Regions from separate parts of the Homo sapiens genome. Here region 2 is linked to region 1. Evidence: promoter capture Hi-C in human tissues and cell types (Jung and others, 2019). All regions are on one chromosome and are shown on one strand. Each heading gives the region's core, a stretch centred on a gene start or on the middle of the fragment in contact. The rest is flanking DNA. Distances are from core to core; before and after follow the strand shown.

Region 1 (6,146 bases), core at 2,533-5,032:
TCTCATTCTGTCTCCCACGCTGGAATGCAGTGTCCCGATCTCAGCTCACTGCAACCTCTGCCTCCCAGGTTCAAGCGATCCTCCTGCTTCAGCATCCCGAGTAGCTAGGATTACAGGCGCACACCACCACTGCCTGGCTAACTTTTGTATTTTTAGTAGAGACAGGGTTTCACCATGTTCGTGAGGTCAGTCTCGAACTCCTGACCTCAGATGATCCGACCGCCTCGGCCTCCCAAAGTGCTGAGATTACAGGGTGAGCCACGCGCCCGGCCTACTTGAGGTTTTATTCTAGTTTTGCTTTGCTTGCCGGGAGCCCTGGTACAGGTCACCAGGCGTTAGTCCTCTTCACCGCCACTCCAGCCAATGGCATTTTTGAGAAATACAGAAGAGGGCTTGGGAGCTGGGGAATTGTCCTGCTTTGTCGGGCGAGGGCGCTGTTGAGCAAGAAGCGTTCCTTCCCTGCGCTGGGCAGCTCTCGTCGGTGGACTGCAGGGAACCCAGGGCGGTGCACAGTACCAGAGCACAGACTGGCGCTGGTCGCTCTGCGCAACCAGCTGGGCTCTGCAAAGAGCGGGCTCCGGGCTAGGGGTGAGGATTGGCGGGCTCTACAGCCCCCAGGGAACAACCACTCTTCCCACACCCACATCCGTGGACAGAACTACTTCAGCGTGACAGGCTACCTGCTGATCAGCGAGAAAGTTAACGTTTAACATTTCTCTGCAAGTAAATTTTTCTCACAAACGGCCTTATCAAAACAGAAAACAAAACCCAAAACCATCTGTCTTACTTAGGGAGCGTGCTATCGTATTTTTATTCCTGCAAGAAACTGATAGGCTCCACATCCATTTCATTTAAAAGAAAACTGGATAATTGTAAACATCTATATTCTCACACAAGCACCTTTAAATTTTATGTTTAAGAACTAAGTTTGAATGCAAAAGAAGGGATTTTACATTATTTAGATATATGTATAAATAATCGGGGACTAAAAATCATCTCTTGTTAATTGATTTATCTTTTATCTGCTTCCTTCTTTGAAGTAAATTAAAATTCCCAATATTCAGATTAATTTAATAAAGTCGTGTAAATATCAAAATACGGTGAAGGTCTGTTTTCCCACAATCAAGTTTTCTTACCATATTACAAATAACTGCACGTTAGTCCATATAACACGTGTTACGTAAATTCAATACATGGTCTTTCCCAGCCTAATTCTTCAGTGTTTTAAGAGTCATCAAAAAAAAAAAAATTAAGTAAAAGTCATCAATTTATATTTTAAAATGTAACAAAGGAAAGGTAAATTCTATGAAAGCAAGTCATTACATCAGTAAGTATAAAGCAACTGAGTTACCAATGCAGAGTAACAAAAGAATGGTGGAGGTCATTAATCTTGCCCACAAAGCCCTCTGCTTGAGTGTATTTGCTCAGACAACATGAGATACCCCAGGAGTGCTTGACGGGGCTGAAAGTGCTTCAGAAAGGGCCAGACGCGGGGTGGGGGCTTTTAACGGCAACTCTGGGCACCTCAGATGGGGCTCAGTCCTATTTGCTCTGTGGCACCGGCCCAACGCTAATGGTGCTCTAAGCTTTTCTCCAAGGCAAGCGATAGTGGCAGCCTCTCCCCTCCCCTCCCGACCTGTTGCTTTGCAGAAGAAACCGCAACAGGGAGGACATTCCTTATAATTCCCATGAAACGACTACGGTTTTTTTTTTTTTTTTTTTTTTTTGAGATGAGTCTTGCTCTGTCGCCCACACTGGAGTGCAGTGGCATGATCTCGGCTCCCTGCAACCTCCGCCTCCCGGGTTCAAGCGATTCTCCTGCCTCGGCCTCCTAAGTAGCTGGGATTACAGGCGCCTGCCACCATGCCCAGCTAATTTTTATATTTTTAGTAGAGACGGGGTTTCGCCATCTTGGCCAGGCTGGTCACGAACTCCTGACTTCAGGTGATCCACCCGTCTCGGCCTCCCAAAGTGCTGAGATTACAGGCCCGAGCCACCGCGCCCAGCCTACGATTATGCTTTTATAGTGGGTATGCTTTTTTAGGAAGGAGAAGCCACCAGGAGCCCAATCTATAATGCGAGTCAGGTCTGATTAACACCTTACTCATTCAGGTTCCAACTCCCAGACCCCGAGGCGCTCCTGGGTTAGACGCCCAAGGGACGGCCCTGCGCAGAAGGCCATTCACGGTCCCTGTATTTTAAAAGACGATGCCACTTTCTGGCTGGAAGGGTTACCTACAACGCCCGCACTGAACCTTACCGGCCTTCCAGTTCTGGTCAGCTCAGCATCTCCAGGTGTCTGGATCCAAGGTCGCCACGGCGCGGGGCTGGAACGGCAAGCGCCAGGAGAGAGTGAACCCTGGGCACTTCTGCTGCCTTCAAACTATGCCATGAGAGCTATTCTTAGTTCCAGTGTCTGCCTGAAAAAGAGGCACCGGACCCCCCAGGAACTTTCCCTGGAGTTCTCAGGGCTGTGGATAAATTACTGTCATTTGTGTTTTTTCTCTCCTGCTACGTCCCCAGTTCTCTGTCTCCAGTTAAGCTTTGAGAAGGGAGGTCCCGAATCTCACACAATTATCAGGGAACCCATTAGTTGAGAGATTTCTCTCCCTGCAAATCCTGGCTGAATTGTTCAATTCGGGGTTCCCCAACTATAGCTGTCTACTTTGTCCCCGGTTAATTTCAATCACACCACCTTGGTCACGGAAGGAGATTGATTCTACAGAGATGATTTTACAGAGTTGTAGGATGAAAAACAAACAAACAAAAAAAGGGGGCTGGGCGCGGTGGCTCACACCTGTAATCCCAGCACTTTGGGAGGCTGAGGTTACTGGATCACTCGAGGTCAGGAGTTCGAGACCAGCCTGGCCAACATGGCGAAACCCAGTCTCTACTAAAAATACAAAAATTAGCCGGGCGTGGTGGCAGGCGCGTGTAATCCCTGCTACTCAGGAGGCTGAGGCAGGAAAATCGCTTGAACCCGGGAGGCGGAGGTTCCCGTGAGCCGAGATCACGCCATTGCACTCCAGCCTGGGCGACACAGTGAGACCCTGTCTCAAAAAAAAAAAAAAAAAAAAAAAAAAGAGGGAATCTTTCTCCTGCCTGGCTACCTGGCCCATCCGGCCTACCCGGTCCCTTCCCTACCTCCCTGGCTAATTTGATTTCCTACAACGTTACTGTCTTTAAAAGGGTTGGTGCCCAGGGACAGCGAACGCCGAGCCCCCAATCCAGGGACAACAGAAACGGCTACCGAGAAAGTAGCAAGGTGAGAGATTGCCTTTGCAAGGCTGGCTTAGGAGCCCGAGACTGCAGTGTCCCCGGCTGGCTAACTGAGATCTCCTCTACACGGAAGCGTCGGCCCCTTTCCTGGCCAGCTACATCCTGGGCCTCCGCACTTCAGAGCTGTGCGTTGGAACCGGAGAACTGAGCGCCCCTCCCGGGAACCCGGCTGCCGGCTCAGGAGCTTGCTTGGCGTCGCCGTCGAGCTCCGGAGCTCCGCTGGGGATCGGGGGTTCAGCAGCGCCCCAGCCTCCCGCTCGCTGCGCTCCCCGCACCGCCACCGCGCACGCCTCTCAGCGCGTCCACCGGGGCGCGGGGCCACCCTCACCTCTCCGGCCCGCGCGGTGGCGGAGGCCTCCAGGGAGCGTCCCCGGGGCAGTGACAGCCGCGCCCCCGCGCCTTCCGGGCTCCGGCCGCCGCTTCGGGCTCCATGGTGCCGGCGGAGCCCGCGCCCCTTGCTGCGGCGCCGGCCTACGAGCGCGCCTAGATCCACTCGGGCTAACGCGCTCACCTACCCGCGCGCCAGGTTTAAAAACGGGGGCGGGGCGGCGCGGGCAAGCGCTGGGAGGGGGCAGGACCCGAGGAGCTCCGTGAGGGGTGCGGAGGGGGCCGCAGGGTACGAAGGAAAAGCCCGGGTCGGAGGAGCGGAGGGGACCAGAGAAGTTCCGGGAGGGGACCAGGGAGCCGGGGATGGGGAGGAGACGAGAAAAGCTCAAGGAGGTGGCGCCGGGTGTCAAGGAGGGGGGTCCGGCAGGCCCGGGCAAGGGTGGGGACGGGACAAAGAAAAGTCGGGGAGGGGGCACCAGAGAAGGGGTGACCAGAGGATGGAGGTACCAGGGATTGGGGCCACGAGCTCGGGCTGGAGACAGCGGGAAGTGACCCAGGAACCCGGGAGAGGAAAGCGAGGCCCGCGGGCTAGGGGCGTTTCCGTCGGGCGCACTCCCTCGGGGACTGGGGGGACCTGCGCTCACCTGCTGGGCTTCCCCTGCCGGATGTGGGATGTGAGGAGTCCCGGCTTCTCCGTCCCTCTGTGGTCCCCGCGGCCTCGGGCTTTGGTCCTGTGCGAGCATCGGATTCCCTGGGTTTCCGGAGAATCTCGCTTCCACCGCCTTAGAGCGGCAGCGGGTCTTCGGGGACATCTACCGAATCCTCGGGTCCGCGTGCACCGGCCTTGCCTTCGGTGCTGGACAGTGGGCTCCCGGACGCCCCGACGCCAGGGCTCGAACCCGTGGCGAAGCGGGTGGGGTGGGGCGCGGCGACCCTTCCAGGAGACAGAAGGCCAGGAATGGAACCGAGCAAGAGGGGTGCTACGAGCGCACCCTTCCCACCGATGGCGGCCTTGGAAAGAATGCGAATTTTTAATAAAGCCTGGAGCGGCGGGCTTCTCCTTCGGTTAGCCCCAGCCAGGCTTAGAAAGGGCCTCCCGACCAGCAGAAGCGACCTTGCCCGACCCTGGGGACACTTCCCCGGGCGTCGCTGGAGCGCCGCTGCCACCATCACCAGCGCACGGCCAGGGTGGGAGAAAGCGGTTTCACACGTAGAGCACTGCGACAGAACACCGAAGGCGCTGGAGGGCCTTCAACTACCCCGGGCTCCTCAGGGGTAGTTACTTTATATAATTTAAGTTACTGTGATGGATGTTAAAAAATCGAAGAACTAGGCCAGGCGCGGTGGTTCTCACCTGTAATCCCAGCACTTTGGGAGACCGAGGCAGGTGGATGGATCACTTGAAGTCAGGAGTTCGAGATCAGTCTGGCCAATATGGTGAAACCCGTCTCTACTAAAAATAAAAAAATTAGCCGGGCGTGGTGGCAGGCTCCTGTAATCCCAGCTACTTGGGAGGCTGAGGCAGGAGAATGGCTTGAATCTGGGAGGCGGAGGTTGCAGTGAGCCGAGAGTGTGCCACTGCACTCCAGCGTGGGAGACAGAGAGAGATTCCCTTTCCAAAAAAAAAAAAAAAAATCGAAGAACTTCCGCAAGGCGCGGTGGTTCATGCCTGTAATCCCAGCACTTTGGGAGGCCCAGGCGGGTGGATCACTTGAGGTCGGGAGTTTGAGACCAGCCTGGCCAACATGATGAAACCCCGTATCCACTAAGAAAAATACAAAAAAATAGCCGGGTGTGGTGGCGGGTGCCTGTAATCCCAGCTACTTGGGAGGCTGAGGCAGGAGAATCGCTTGAACTCGGGAGGCAGAAGTTGCAGTGAGCCGAGATCGCGCCAGTGCACTCTAGCCTGGGCAACAAGAGCCAGACTCTGTCTCAAAAAAAAAAAAAAAAAAAAAATCGAAGAACTTCAGACATTAAAGTGTTTTCACATTTTTTTAATTAAGATTTTGAGCAACAATAATTAAATCTAAATAAAGGCAAACATTTAAGAGGGGGGAATTAATGGGAGGAGGCTAGAAGGAGGCAAAGAACATTAGTGGGCCATATTGCAACAATAAGGTACCATATTTAATCTAAATGCAGAATGGGGTTTTACAAGAACACTGGGCAGGGCGCGGTGGCTCAATCCTGTAATCTGCACACTTTGGGAAGCAGAGGCAGGCAGATCACTTGAGGTCAAGAGTTCCAGACCAGCCTGGCCGGAGTGGTGAAACCCCGTCTCTACAAAAATACAAAAATTAACCAGGCGTGGTGGAGTGGGCCTGTGGTCCCAGCTACTCAGGAGGCTGAGGTGGGAGGATTACCTGAGCTCGAGGAAGTTGAGGCTGCAGTAAGACATGATCACACCACTGCAGCCCAGCCTGGGCCACAGAGTGAGACGCTGTTATTTTTCTCAAATATATATATATATAATTTTTTAAAAAAAGAAAAGAAAATGAAAGAACACTGGGCAACTGGGTGCAGAAGGGGTGTTTTCGTTG
Region 2 (5,880 bases), core at 1,865-4,364, 190 kb before region 1:
CACTGTGCTGAGCACTTCACCAGGAATTTACTCATCTGTATACCCTCCCAGCTTCTCCTTCTGATACCTTCTTTCTTTCTGAGGTCATACTGCAGATGCTTTTTGGTCCTCATTCTGACCAACCATCCTATCACTTTACGGCCTCTGCTTTTTCAGCCTCCTGAGTAAGTACCTCAGGCTGACAGAAGGAACTTCCATCTTTGCTATTGTGTCTTCTACTGTTTCCTTTAATTCCCTTCTCCAGTCATCTGACTAAAAAACTACTCTAAAATAGTTTTACTGCTTCAGTTTGTGGTGTGTTGAGCACTTTGACCACCTGCTGCGACTGCACACACACACACACACACACATCCTTTATCCGTGGGAGATATGTTCCAAGACCTCCAGTGGATGCCTGAAACCACAGAAAATTCCAATCCCCACATATGCAATGTTTTCTCCTATACATATGTATCTATGATGAAGTTTAATTTATAAATTAGGCACAGTAAGAAATGAACAACTAGAACTAGTAATAAAATAGAACAATTACACTGTAGTAAAGATTATGTGAGTGTGGTCTCTCCCCCTTAAAATATCTTATTGTACTGCACTGTACTTGCCTATTTTCAGACCACGGCTGACCGTGGGTAACAAACTGTGGAAATCAAAATCACGAATAAGTGGGGGCACTTCTGTAGTCTTTGAGATTACCTTAAAACCGTAGTAACATTTTGCATTGCTGGGGCACCACTTCAATTTTATACCAGGCTATCCATTATTCATAACATAGATTAAGCAGTTCAGCAGGGAAAACTAATCTAAAATCTTTTTTTTTTTTTTTTTTTTTTGAGACGGAGTCTCGCTCTGTCACCCAGGCTGGAGTGCAGTGGTGCGATCTCGGCTCACTGCAAGCTCCGCCTCCCGGATTCACGCCATTCTCCTGCCTCAGCTTCCCAAGTAGCTGGGACTACAGGCACACACCACGATGCCCGGCTAGTTTTTTGTATTTAGTAGAGACGGGGTTTCACTGTGTTAGCCAGGATGATCTCAATCTCCTGACCTCGTGATCCGCCCACCTCGGCCTCCCAAAGTGCTGGGATTACAGGCGTTAGCCACCGCGGCCGGCCTAAATTCTTAAGGAATAGTCATTGCTTTAAATTAAATTAAATGCCATCAGACTAAAAATACGTACTGATAATACTTTGAATACACTTGAAAAAACAGAAGACAGATTTTGAAAATGAGCTTTCTTCAAATGAGCTTTCACTCTGTGAGTGCTCAGCATACCCAGAAGCCCCTCTATAGAGGAAACCCCATCGACAGCCTCAGTGGCCCATAAATCCACAAATGCCTCAAAAAATATACCAAGGAATGCAATTTATCTTCAACATCCTTATATGTATTCACATGAAAAATCTCTTAATTTAGCCTTAAGAAGTAAACTCTATCATCTCTGTGTGAACTCCTATAGTCGATCTTACGCAGGCACAAAGGAAAATTCTGACCCAGGCCCTAAAACGCCCTGAGATCCCTGGTCAGACTCCTCAGACACAGCATGGCGTGGCTGTTCTTTCCTGACGAAAGCACTCTTAAAATGTTAGCATGACATACATGTCCTAAGTTTTCCAGAAGAATGCATTTTTAAACTTCTCTAAGAAAGAATGGACAAGAGTGACAGTGAACTTCTCATTTTAGAATGTTCTTTATTCTGACAGTTGTTGGACAAATATAAGGCATGTTCACAAGTATCTGAAGTTATGTACAAAACACACTCATTCAACGGATGTTCCTCTTCTCCTTTTGTACTTGCTGCTGCAAACTGATCCTCATGCACGTTAACACCCATAGCGCTCAATTCTTATGGATATGCAGACAGTGTTTTGGGGACCACCGTGGAGAATCTGTTTCAAACTAAGGCGTGAGCTTCTAAGAACTAAGTCACTAAGACATCAGAACTCACAGTGAACAAAGGCAGAGGAAGGTGACCAAATCAGCTCATAAACTCATGACTCTAAGTTTCCAGTGGAACAAAGAACACATTGAAAAACATTTTTTGATCCTTCATGTTGGAGAGAAATGGAATGTGACCAGAATTCATGGTTCTATATTTACCACTGTCTAAAAGTCACAAAACAATATCTAATTTTTTCATGGTTTCTAATGCAGTTACAGTTTTGTTCTTAGGTCACAGTACAAGACTGCATGCATACTTTACACAAATATCAAACACAGAACGATTGTAACACAGATACCTCAGGGTTGTCTAAAGACACAGCTTCTCTTTTTGTGGTGGGGTGGGGAAGGAGAATGGTGGTGGCCATTTCCACACACAGCCTGTTGTGTGCTCAGCACGGCTGGATGCGGATCCCAAGCACTCGCTGACTGACTCACAGAAGAGGACAGAAGCTGCTAAGGAAGGCAGCGGAGTTCAAAGAGCAGGCTCCAACCGGGGGCTGGGATGACGGACACACAGCCTCGATTCCAGGGGGAAAAAGTCTTAGTCGATACTAATTAAAAAGTGTTAATGATTTTTGAAAATCAGATTACATCTATAAAAGATGAAAAGCAAACACTTAAAACAATCTAACGGGGGAACATAAAATAATAAAAAATCAAATGCAGATGGGATTTCACAAAGAGGAGATTTGAATCTTTTGGTCTAAATCAGCCAATATTTTAACATTAACTATAAATTATTAAAATATAGTTTGCTTATGCCCATCCTTAAAATGCAGAATCTTTGAGGAAAAATATAGGCATATCAGGAATACAGACTCTTGTAAAAAATTTAAAAAGTCAGTATCATCTCTCTTGTGGAGCTACCAGAACAGGTTTTTCAAACAGAAAAGGGGAACAAACGTGGGGAACAAACGTGGGGCGCTTGGCTATGTTAAGAATTCTTATCACTAGAATACTGCTTCGAGACGTTCATAGTACTTTCCAAAAGAAGCCACCCACCTCAAAGAGCCCTGCGCAGCCCCAGTGACCCATGAGTGTGGTAGCCGTCATTTTATTAGCCACTGTTGGCAATCATCAAAGTATTCACTCAGAGTGGGGAAATTACTTAATATCAGCGATATTAACGATTTCCATGTATTTAGCTTTGTGACACACAATGCACAAGGGTCTTCAAATGTTTGTTTTTTACACCAGTGGTAGAAAATTGTCATTCTTCGGATTCAACACACTGGTGGATGACACTTTAGTGAAGTGTGACTACCTAGAAGAGCAGGAAGGCAGCTCCTGATTCTGACTGGGCCAGCCTCTTCCAGAAGGTGACTCTTCTGTCAGGAGATCACGACCCTGGCAGGCCGGGCAAGCGCTCTGCCCTTTAAGCCACTGCTTAAAGCACTGAAAAGGAGAAAACAAAATCAGAAGATGCCTTCAGGACCATGAGGAAGCTTAGCTCCCCTGTGCTGCTGGGCTCCTTGGCAGGCGTGGCTCACTTGCCCTTGGTCTCTTGGGCCTGGAGCTGCCCAATACTCAGGGACACCAACACCCGCTCAGGCCAGAGTGTGGACAAAGCCCCAGCCGCAAACGATCCCACCTCAGGGTCAGATCCTGAGCGCTCTGGGCCTCCAACCTGGCCTCAGGGGGTGGTCTTGCCCTGATCCCCGGTTCCAGGCTCGGCTCTTCCACTTCAGCTGCGCCAAATTCCAGAGCCTGGCATTCTCGGCCCTATGACCCAATCACTCATTCTTAGCCCATCCCTTGGCCTGGCCTTGGCCCTTGGCTCTGGAACAGCCCTCCAGCCTGCACGCCACACTCCTGCTGCTGCTGCCCACACTGCAGAGGCTGTGGACAGTCAGCTAGCCCAAATATAAGACCCTGTACCCAAGGAGGCACACCACACCAGAGACTTGGCAAGTGGTCTCAATTCCTTTCAGTGAGCATGCTGTATTTATCCCGTTCCAAGGGATTAGCAAATCCCCATGGCAGAGACCTGATCTGTTCTAACCCAGCAGCAGGGGTGCACACAAATGCTCACGGTACCTAGAACACCATGATAGTTCACACACAGATCCCAGAACGGTACGAGCAGGACTGTCCCTGGGTCAGGCAGAAGGGACTCAGCTAGGTTTAGTTTTTCTCCTCTAAAATGTTAAACTGACTTCATATACTACACTAAGTCAAAAAAATGGTTTCACTGTTTCTCCATTTAGTCAAGTGTGTAAGAAATCACCTTTCAAGGAACTAATACTGCTTTGAATCTCAGCACTAACGAGTGGCTGGAGCTGCTGTTCCCCTCTCCCCACAAGGGATGGAAAGGACGGTCTCCAGAGCTGCCCTTCCTGCAGAGCTGGTGTGAGGACAGGGAGGCACTGAACACTGACACGGGAGGTTTGCAAAGAAAATAGTTTGAAAGCACAATAAATACTGATGACTAGAAAACAATTCCTTTCTTATTTTGAAAATATTTGAAGGTCCCAATGCATGCTGTAAGGATGGCCAAAAAGAGCTCTTACCCCTTTGTGATACTTGTGCCCACATTTGAGCACACGCACGTTTTTTGATTTGAACACCTCGTGGCATATTTCACAGGAACTTGCACCCAGTGCCTGTGGAAACAAACACACCTGAATAGTAAAGAATAACTACAGTTGTTTTTATGACACGAGTTCTTCCTTCAAGTGGCCTTCAAACATCTTCTGCCACAAAGGGTGGCAAATTATTCACAATTACAGCTAAACAGTCTGAGGAAACAACTTATTTTTTAATAGCATTTCTTAAGAAAAAATATAAAAATACAAAAAGAAAAGTATAAAGTTCTAATTTCCTCAGAGAAAAAACTGTTTTATGTGACCAGAAGATCCCCAGGTGAAGATTACCATACCTAAAGTACAGTATGGGATAATCACATGGCATGGTGTGAATTAATCATACATTTAATCATCTAACAGTTGAGGGTAGTAAATTCCAACACATCCACACAATGGGCTATTGTGTAGCCAAAAGGAAAATCATGACGGAAGCCCATAATCCCTGACATAGAAAGCTGGCCCCAACAGCCTGCTGAATGAAAGCAGCTAACAAGACAACATGTATCATATATAACTCACTTTTTAATAAAGGGGCTGCATGTATACATACATGCCTAGAAAAACAGTTAACAGTGGTTGCCTCAGGGTAAGGGAGATTTAATCTTTTTCTTTACTATTTTCTAGTTTCTATGAGCATGGATTACTTGTGCAAATCAAAACAAAACAAACGGATGGCTCATCCGGCAAACATCCATGGGCAGGGTTGGTGTCGGGTGCTGGACGCAGAGATGAATGGAGGGCTCTGGCCTCAGCGGCTCACAGTCTGGTGAGCATAGACAGTGCTTTCGATGTGAGAGCAGACCTGAGTGTCGCCTGGGACTCCAGGCACAGTTCTCCCTGCAGCTCACAGCACTTACCCTTACTGCACCATTAACTTCTACTCTAGCTCACTGCCTCTTAACTCTGAGCGCCTTGAAGGCACAAAATGAGTCCCATCTGGGTCTTTAGCAGCTGGCAGAAAACCTAGCTCAAACTCATGCTCTAAAAACCCCTGCTGAGGGAGTGGGCGAATGCAGGCAGCCCTGGCAGTGGGATCAAGTTCAGGGAGTGGCACTGGAGGCATCACCCCAAGGCTGAGAAGACCTTGAACTGCTGTTCAGGGTTTTGCTGTCTCTCCCAAGGCATGACTCGGCCCAGGAGGAGATGGGGCAGATGCTGCAGAAGGAGGGTTCATGCCCCTCCACTGCTGCCCATGACTCGAGGGTCAGGGAAGAAGAGGAAGTGCCAGACCGGGGAAGAGCCATTGAAGGCCTCTCCAATGCCCAGTGCAAAGCTCGGAGCCAGGTTTAGTTTGAAAAAAATATACACTTAACTTGACCGTTTTCTATTTCCTAGAAAAGATGGGCACAGTATATTT

What was found. The method cuts DNA at HindIII sites, captures the fragments that hold promoters and counts their contacts. A contact is called where the count stands out against the background at its distance.
Region 2: a contact is called between a fragment that was not itself captured here and the fragment with the promoter of RIPPLY3 in region 1, in 1 of the 25 tissues and cell types used here (mesendoderm cells).

What each region holds. Positions count from the first base shown.
Region 1 is chr21:37,004,338-37,010,483 of GRCh38, reverse strand. It overlaps RIPPLY3 (ripply transcriptional repressor 3), which reads right to left and starts at 3,782. Exons shown (of 4, transcript NM_018962.3): 1 at 3,608-3,782; 2 at 2,261-2,327. The coding sequence starts at 3,711. RefSeq lists enhancers at 331-390, 3,941-4,441 and a silencer at 3,608-3,717. The HindIII fragment of the contact is 12,344 bases long and covers 2,065-6,146 here.
Region 2 is chr21:37,198,893-37,204,772 of GRCh38, reverse strand. TTC3 (tetratricopeptide repeat domain 3) reads right to left here. Exons shown (of 46, transcript NM_001330683.2): 45 at 4,449-4,541; 46 at 1,666-3,333. The coding sequence ends at 3,199. Among named protein-coding and RNA genes, the nearest start is that of DSCR9, 6.7 kb to the left of the region's middle. The HindIII fragment of the contact is 4,158 bases long and covers 1,036-5,193 here.